Linked DNA regions of Homo sapiens: region 1 is linked to region 2. Evidence: promoter capture Hi-C in 16 types of primary human blood cells and fetal thymus (Javierre and others, 2016). All regions are on one chromosome and are shown on one strand. The core of a region is centred on a gene start or on the middle of the fragment in contact, and the rest is flanking DNA. Distances in the headings are between cores, read along the strand shown. Region 1 overlaps CLASP2 (cytoplasmic linker associated protein 2). Region 2 holds the start of CLASP2 (cytoplasmic linker associated protein 2).

What was found. The method cuts DNA at HindIII sites, captures the fragments that hold promoters and counts their contacts. A CHiCAGO score of 5 or more calls a contact.
Region 1: a contact is called between a fragment that was not itself captured here and the fragment with the promoter of CLASP2 in region 2, in 3 of 17 cell types (monocytes, M2 macrophages and naive CD8 T cells). The highest score is 5.8, in monocytes.

What each region holds. Positions count from the first base shown.
Region 1 is chr3:33,657,793-33,661,989 of GRCh38, forward strand. All of the region lies in intron 7 of CLASP2 (cytoplasmic linker associated protein 2), which reads right to left. Among named protein-coding and RNA genes, the nearest start is that of CLASP2, 58 kb to the right of the region's middle. RefSeq lists an enhancer at 1,575-1,624. The HindIII fragment of the contact is 1,973 bases long and covers 1,890-3,862 here.
Region 2 is chr3:33,715,806-33,720,115 of GRCh38, forward strand. CLASP2 (cytoplasmic linker associated protein 2) reads right to left here and starts at 2,449. Exons shown (of 39, transcript NM_001365631.1): 1 at 2,003-2,449. The coding sequence starts at 2,197. RefSeq lists a silencer at 2,181-2,520 and an enhancer at 2,721-2,810. The HindIII fragment of the contact is 12,344 bases long and covers 1-4,310 here.

The DNA of each region.
Region 1 (4,197 bases), core at 1,626-4,125, 58 kb before region 2:
TAAATGTACATAATAGTTCAAATGACTGTCTACCAACACCATCATTTTGATATATTTGTATCCTATCTCTCATAGCCCCTAGGGGAATTACTTCTTAGAAGAGTTCACTACATACATAGTCAAAGGAAGGCTGAAACTGTTAAGAGTTAAAACCTCCATATATGGACCAGTCTTCCTTAAGAACCTGGCAAAAAAACACTCAAAACATTTTTGAGGAACCTCAGGTTTCCCTTCATACATATCTGTGATGTTGATGTGATTATAAAGTATATCTCTAGGCCTCGTAACAAAAAAAGGTGTAATGAAAAAAGAAAAAAAGCTCAAGTATTAAGTGTTATAATGGAAAATACCAAACACACATTTGGGACCCTAGATTTGGTACTGGTTTGCTTTCTGTGCCTGGATCTGGGACATATTGTCTCAGCAGGTCTCAGTTTCCCAATCTGTAAGATGGAAATACCAAAACACTCTGAACACTTCACAGAGTTGTTCACACCTGAGGAGTTAATATATATTAAGTATACAAAAGTGCTTTGGAGAACTATAATGCCTAATAAGGCATTATAGAAATAATGTGTTTTTAAAATTATCCTTACCAAACTAAAACACTGGCAAAATCAATTTTTAATCAAATTATACCCTGTGCATAATCTTAAAAGGCTAAATATTTTCTAGAAAAATGTTGGGACACTGACAATTAACAATCATATGAATTAAAATAATGCCCATGGCAAGCCATTTTGCTTCTTTAAATATTTTATTTCCACAGAATTCTACTTGTGTCAAATACAACAGGAAGGATATCAAGCTAGCTAGTCAAATCTTCCTGCTAAAATCTGTCATTCCTCCAAAGGCAATGTTCTTCCTCTAAGCTTCTGCACATATTCCACGTTTCTTCCAATATCCCTTCATATCTACCACCAAGACTGAAGCTTGCTTGGGTTGCAAGGTAAATTGTCACCTCATGCTTGCCAGATCCCACACAGACACATCAAGTGAAAAAAGATGTCAAATGACATGCACACACATGCATAAATGTACACACAAGTGTACACACATGCATAAACACACAAGTGTCCTTCATTCTTTAGGGAGAAATATATTTCTTACACAGCAAATGATCGTCACCTTAAAAGGAAGTGTATAACACAAGCAAAAGAAGAAAAATAAATCTTACTCACCATCTCCCATAGCCATTAGATGGTCCAGGGAGCTCTCTGAAACCAAGAGGTCAAATAGCACAGCAAATAAGTACAGCTCAGTGCCTGCGCCACTGGGCTCGGCCTGCAGCCTGCAGACACCCGGAGCACTGTGTGACCCAGGCCTCGCTGCAGCTCTGCACCGCAATAGCCAACAGCTGCTACTCCACTTCAAAATAAAAGTCTGGGGTCTTGCTGAAAACCCTCGTTTATTTAGCACAGCCTAGAAGGACTTGATTAAGATTACTCTTTAGCTGCACATATGCTGTTGGATACAGGTTATGATGTTTCTCCTTGTACTGGCTGCCTGAAATTTAATCTAAGAAAAGCTCTGAGAGCCAATAAATGCCATCCCGCTGGGGGACTTTTAATGCAATCATCAAAACACAAGGCATGTGTTCAGCAATCATTTTCTGCTTCCCTAAAGATATCCATGTAATCAGTAGCAATCACATGATCTGATGGATTAACTGATTTGCGCCTTTTTAAAAAGGTTTTCATCCTTTTGTCGTTACCTTTTAATATTTACAACAGAAGATTGCTAGAAGTGCATAAACAGGAATAGCCCAGTTTCCATGATTAACTGCTCTCATTATGCAGGAAGCATTTCTGGCTGCCGTAAACAAATCACGTCAAAGGCAGCCCATCAAAGGCTGCTCTGTGCGCGGACAGCAGGGCCACACGGAACAAAGCTTACTTCTGGTGGAGACAGAACCTAGCCAATGCGCAGCTGCAGGGGCGCAGAGCACCCTCTATCCAAGCTGACAACCATCAGCACATTGTCAAGCTCTGAAGGCAGGCCCTGGAGCTCATGATCACAAACAGATACATTTTAAAAATCAACCAAAGAAAAGAGCTGCTTTGCTTTTCACCAAAGGGTATGTTATAAAAATATACAAAACTAGACTGGAAGTTATCTTATTGACTCATAGAAGCCAAATATTAAGGTAATTTCAAAGCCTCATTTCCAGGTTTTATTTTATTGCCAGCCTCCAAGAACAATTCTTTTCCTAGCAACTGTTTCAAACAGAGAAGCCAGAAAATACTTTACTAATGATTGCATGGCCAAGACTGCATTAGGTCCTAAACACACACTCGACAAATAAGAATTATGCATAGTTTTTTTCACAGTGAAAGAGAAAAGGATTTGCAATTACAGCCACCAACACTGTTAGTGTTTACATCCTTGGTTTGTGCAGGAGACTGTCTAGAAAGCTCCATAACGACACCAGCGCCTGCCATAATCGCAGGGGGTCTCCAACTTTCAGTCTTTTCTTTCCTACAGGGCTGGTGTTCCCTCCTTCTAGTCACGATCTGACAGATTTTAAATCCAGTTTTCTTCTAACAGCAGAGCTAATTCTACTGCATTTAGGGACTCTGCCTAACTTACTTTTACAATATAACAAGTTGAGTTCAAAAAACCATCAAATACTCTATAACTCACTTAATGACTGTTCAGATGACAACTTTTAGCTATAAAAAAGTTATATCACCTTTACAACAAATCCTTTGGTTTCTTGTATTTAGTAAAATGATTTTTTTCATCACGAAACACTCTAAATCAATATGCTGTAAGATGTATGATGTGTCATTATTATGGTTTCAGGCAAAGACACACCAAAAAATTTTGTTTACCATAATAGTTTCTGGTCACAGAATATCAGGTGGAACAAATTTGAATTGCGTGCCATTTTTGGACAGACCCAAAACAATTTATTTTGCATAAATGCACCAAGTGAGGGAGAGAAAAGGTAGTATCTTCAACAGCTCTTTGTGTGCATGAACTATTTCCACAAGATTTCATGCCGAGCCTTTACTCTGTCCTAAAATGTTTTCCTGTTTCTATCACTTTATTTACAGTTTTAGTTTTAGTTTTAGTGTGCAATAAAAATGAATCAACAAAGGCCTGAAAATTTTGTGGGGAAAAATTGTGCAGAAATAAAGAAGAAGTTGAATTAAACTCCATGATATTACTTCATGTACAATTTCCCTTCAAATTGTTACTTATAAAAATTTGTTTTCAGTATTCAATTGATATATTTTTCTACCTGGGAAAACTACTCAAGTATCATGGGCTGGGATGAAACACACCGTAATTTTTCTCATTAACACTGGTGAAAATAATTTTTTCATCTAATGGTCTTTCACTTGGCAGCAGGGTATTTAGGAATAATTTAAACTCATTAAACAAGGAGTAGTTATATTTCCTCCATTACCAACTGTAACCACATTGTATATCCATTTATTTACTTGTTTATGATCTATCTCCATCACTAGATTATAGGCTCCTTAAGGGGAGAAATTTCATTATCTTCTTCCTGTTGTGACATGATCTAATTTACATTTTAAGAAGATCCCTATGATTTCTGAGTAGCAAATGGATTCCTGGGGGCAAACATGGAACAGAAGTCTACAGAAGTAGTCCAGGCAAAAGCTAAAGGAGATTTAGAGAGGATATTAGCAGTGGAGATGGAAAAAATAAGCAAATTTGGGATATGTTAGTATTTCAGAAGTAGAAATGTTTGATCAGTTAGAATAGGAAATCAAGTCAGGTTTCTAGCTTGAGCTGATGATGGTGCCACTGACTAAAATGGCTAAGACTGGAGAAGGAACAGATCTGAGAGGCAAGAAAAGATAACAGGGTTTCATTTTTGGACATAGGAAGCTTGAAATGCCTATTAGGCAGCCAAATGGGAACGTCATCAAGGCCACAGGCTAACAAGTCTAGACCTAACCCAAAGGAGAGATGAATGATGGCTAGACCTACATACTGGGAATCATTAGCAAAGAGTTATCATTTAAAGCCTTTGAGTGGGGTTGGATCACTAAGAAAGAGAGAATAAAAACAGGGAAGAGGAGGCCTGGGCCCTGGGATTTTCCAACGTGATAAATAGGTTTCCTTCTTCTAGCATCCTCTTGTTAATTAATTCATTAAGGAATTTTTCAGTGACAGCATATTATCATCAAAAACATTATGACCAATATGACTTTAACTTTC
Region 2 (4,310 bases), core at 1,199-3,698:
CACTTTTTAAAACAGTTAAGTATGTTTTATTGTATCTTAAGTAAAAAAAAAAAAAAAAAAAAAAAAAAAAGATTACCCAGTTGGGTAACTTAGCTTATAAAACTTAAAGCAACAGATTAATTAGAATGCCCTTTCCCTAGCAATGTCAGAAAAGTTTCTATGCTATAGAATTCAACAGAAAGGGAAGAACTAGTGATTTAGGAAAGAGAGCAGAATTGATGGATCAATGTCCTTGAGTAAGCAAGAAGGCATGGAATCTAATACTTTCGTGGAGGGAATTGCATAAATGAGGAAAACAGGCAATTTATCTATTCTAACAAGGAAAAAGGAAGATTATATGGTCACAGCTACAAGGAAGTGTATAGACAGGTGGTGGGAGACTATGGCAGTTCTCTTCTGACTGCTGAAATTGTCTTGGGCTACATTATCTAGTGAGGAGCATGGAGAAAATACGTAGTGAAAACAGAAAAGAACCCGGATGAGACCCCTGATGGATTCTAACTCTTAAAGAACAGTTAAAAACACAGCACCGAGTAGAAGTAGGGCTTAGAGGCATAACAGAAAACTAGCATACTGTGGTATCACAGAATATCAGCGTGATTGCTCAACTGTCATTCACTGAGGTACATCTGAGGAGTGAAATGGCCCAAAGCCAATTCACAACAGCCCGTGTAGAAGATGGCACACCAATCTTAACTTCGGAAGGGGTGCAAACATTACCAAAGCGCTGTCTTTCTACAACAGTCTATGCTGTAGCATAAAATCAACTATCTTGAGTGTGAATATGTATATGCCTTTCTTACAGAGTAAATTTAGCTTGTTTCTTCCAAAGAAATAATCTCCCAAATGGTAATGATATATTATTAAATTACCTTTTCCCCAAACGTTTTAAAAATAATAATCAAGAGATGGTATGTAATGAAGCATCGACGTGGGTAACTCTCAAACTTTATTGTCCTTGTAAAAAGTCTAACCTTTCCAAAACTCATCTGGGCTTTACCATTAAATCTGCGTCATAATTCTAGAGTTTGTCTTTCTTCTCTTTTTGAATAAAAGGTTTCAAAGTACAGCCTATTCGCTGGATCATGAGAATATGTTACTAAGAAGAATCACTTCATCCATGGGAAGCTGCAGTCAGCATTTTAAAGCAACACTGCCACCAGAAGACAAGAAAGAAAAGTAACTACTAACGACTACGGGGCAAGTTAAATACAAAATATTTACCTGGCCTCCCAACGCGGCTACATTACACCCTGCCTACCACCAACTCTTCAGAAAGGCTCATTCTTTCTCGCACCTCATCTTTGTAACTTTTTCCCCCCCAGCATTAGCCTATCTACTAAGACACATCAACCTAAAATCGTATCCTAATGTCCTATCTGTTGGTCTGGGTAGTGTTTACACAGGTGAACACAAATGTCGAAGTCTTTCACTGATTTTTTTTTCAAAATAAGTGATCAACATTGTGTCCTAGTAACTCCGCAACGTGTCACGGAATCGCTGAATTTGTCATTGTCCACAAGTGTAGAAAAATGTGGTCACAAGTCAGTCCTCGGCTCGCGTACGAAGAGGCGGTCTGCCCAGTGGGGACGCGGGACCCCCCTGTTTCCCCTATTTTTATTTATTTTTTACTTTTTTTGAGACAGAGTCTCACTCTGTCGCCCAGGCTGGAGTGCAGTGGCTCGATCTCGGCTCACTGCAACCTCTGCCTGCTAGATTCAAGCGATTCTCCTGCCTCAGCCTCCTGGGTAGCTGGGATTACAGGCGCCCGCCACCACGCCCGGCTAATTTTTGTATTTTTAGTAGAGACGGGGTTGCACCATGTTGGTCAGGCTGGTCTCGAACTCCTGACCTCGTGATCCGCCCGCCTGTGCTTCCCAAAGTGTGTTTCCCCTCTTAAGCAGTGGTTCGGACGGGAGCTTTCCCGGCCCGGCGCTCGCGTCCGGGATTAAAGGGCTGCCGCGGAGGGCGTGACCAGCCCAGCCTCGCCGCCGTCGCTTACCCGGTAGTTGCTCGAACCCACCCAGCCGGTGAGCGCGTCGACTGTCTTGCCTAGGCGGCCCAGGTCCTCCTCCAGGTCCGAGATGGCGCCGGGGGCGCCAAGGTAGAGCAGGAGCTCCTGGCCGACCTGCAGCCGGCCGCCGACGTCCTTCTGCTGCACCTGGGCGCAGAAGTACTCCATGCTGCGGGGCTCCATGGCTGCGGCCGCCCGCCCGCCTGCCAGTCTGTGAGCGGCCAACTTTCGCCGAGAGCCGCCCAGCCTCCAGTGCGGGTCCCCGCGGGAGCGGGCGGGACTCACTTAGCCCGCCAGGGGCGCGGCTTGCGGGGCGCAGCGGGCGGCGGGAGGAACGCCAAGCGCCCAGCCGCCCCCAAACTAGTCAAACTCGGCGCCCCCCGATCCCCAGCCCGCTTCAGAGGCCGCGGCCGCGGGCGACGTCAGCACGCGCGTGACGTCAGCACGACGCCGGCGAGGGCCCTCCAGTCCGGCTAGCGTTTTGCTGCGGAGGTGGTGGAGGTGGCTGCGGAAACCGCTGGGAGCGATAGGACCTCTAGGGAGACTTGGGGTCCGAGTTGGGCCGAGCCCCCTGGGAGGCGGGCCGTTCTTTGCTAGCCGCTGTCAGGGCACCCTGCCCTCGCCCTGTGAAATGTGGAACGTTTCCAAGTTTGCCTCCACTTGTATTCAACACTTAGGAAAGTACTTGGCATCCCCCTTTCCCGCCCCCACTGCCGGTTTAAAAAAAAAAAAAAAAAAGAATACACTCCTGACTTCTGCTTCCAGCCACCACCACAGTCACTGTGTAATACTTAAAAAAACAAAACAAAACAAAACTTAGGTTTGCCTAAAGTAAAACGCACAGATTTTCAGCGTACACTTCATGAGTTTCGGCAAATGTATTCACCCGTGGAACCGCCACCCCAGTGAGGGTACAGCACGTTTCCAACACCCCAGGAAGTCCCAGGACACTTCCCAATTATCTGCTCTTCCCTAGGCAATTCTAATTTGATTTCTAGCATGGTAACATAGTTTTCCCTGTTCCTGAACTTCATACAGTCTGTGCTTCTTTGGAGTCTGGTTTCTTTTAGCATAACGTTTGGGGTCCATCCAGCGCTGTTGGTGTCTCAGAAGTCCATTCCTTTTTATTGCTTTCCATTCTGTGGAATCACTACCATTTGTCGATCCATTCACTTGTTGGTAGATATTTGGGTTGTTTCCTATTTTTTATAATTATGAATAAAGCTGCTACAACGGTTAGTGCACAAGTTTTTGTGTGGATATATTTTCTTCTCTCATGGGTAAATAAATACCAAGGACTGGCATTACTAGGTCTTGTAAGTTGTATGTTTAACTTTAGAAGAACCTGCCAAATTGTTTACCAAAGTGACTGGATCATATTAAATCCCCACCAGCAATGCTTGAGAGTTCCAGTTGCTCCACAATATTTGATATGGTCAGGGTTATTAGTTTTAGCCATTCTGGTGGGGGTAAAGTTGTCTAATACATTCCAAAAGCACACTGTGTTTATCTTCTTGACAATTATTCCCAATCACAACAAAATGATTATTTATGTAATATCTTTCTCTTCTAATACACAGAAAGCTCCAGGAACCTTTGTGTTTTCCTAGGGTGGTGCCTAGCAAATAATGGGTGGCCAATTTAAGTTAAATGAGTGAATGAATTCAACAAAAATTGATATTTGAAATATTCACAATAACTAAGAATAAACAAACTCAAAATTCAAAGAAATTGACTGTTTTCTGTGTTCTTTTTTCAGTATTTCTGTGTTTCACATTGTATTGAGTTTGTAAAGTTTCTTCCATCTTTAATTGGTTGTAATTTCCCTCAGACTATGCCTCAATCAAGTAAACTATGTGTGATGGTTAATTTTATGTGTCAACTTGACTGGGGCAAGAGATGCCCAAATAGCTGGCAAAACATTATTTCTGAGTGTGTCTGTGAGAGAGTTTATGGAAGAGATTATCATTTGAATTGGTGAGCTGAGTAAAGCAGATGGCCCTTCCCAATGTCAGTGGACATCATCCAATTCGTTGAGGCCTGAACAGAACACAAGTGTGGAGAAAGGCCAAATTCACTCTCTCTGCTCGATCGGAAACATCCATCTTTTCCTGCTCTCAAAGATGGGTGCTCCTGGTTCTCAAACTTTAGTATTCAGACAGAAACTTATATCATCAGTCCTCCAATTCTCAGGCCTCCAGACTAGGACTGTATTACACCACCAGGTTTCCTGGTTCTCCAGCTTGCAAACAGCAGACATGAGACTTCTTGCCTCCCTTAACCGTGTGAGCCAATT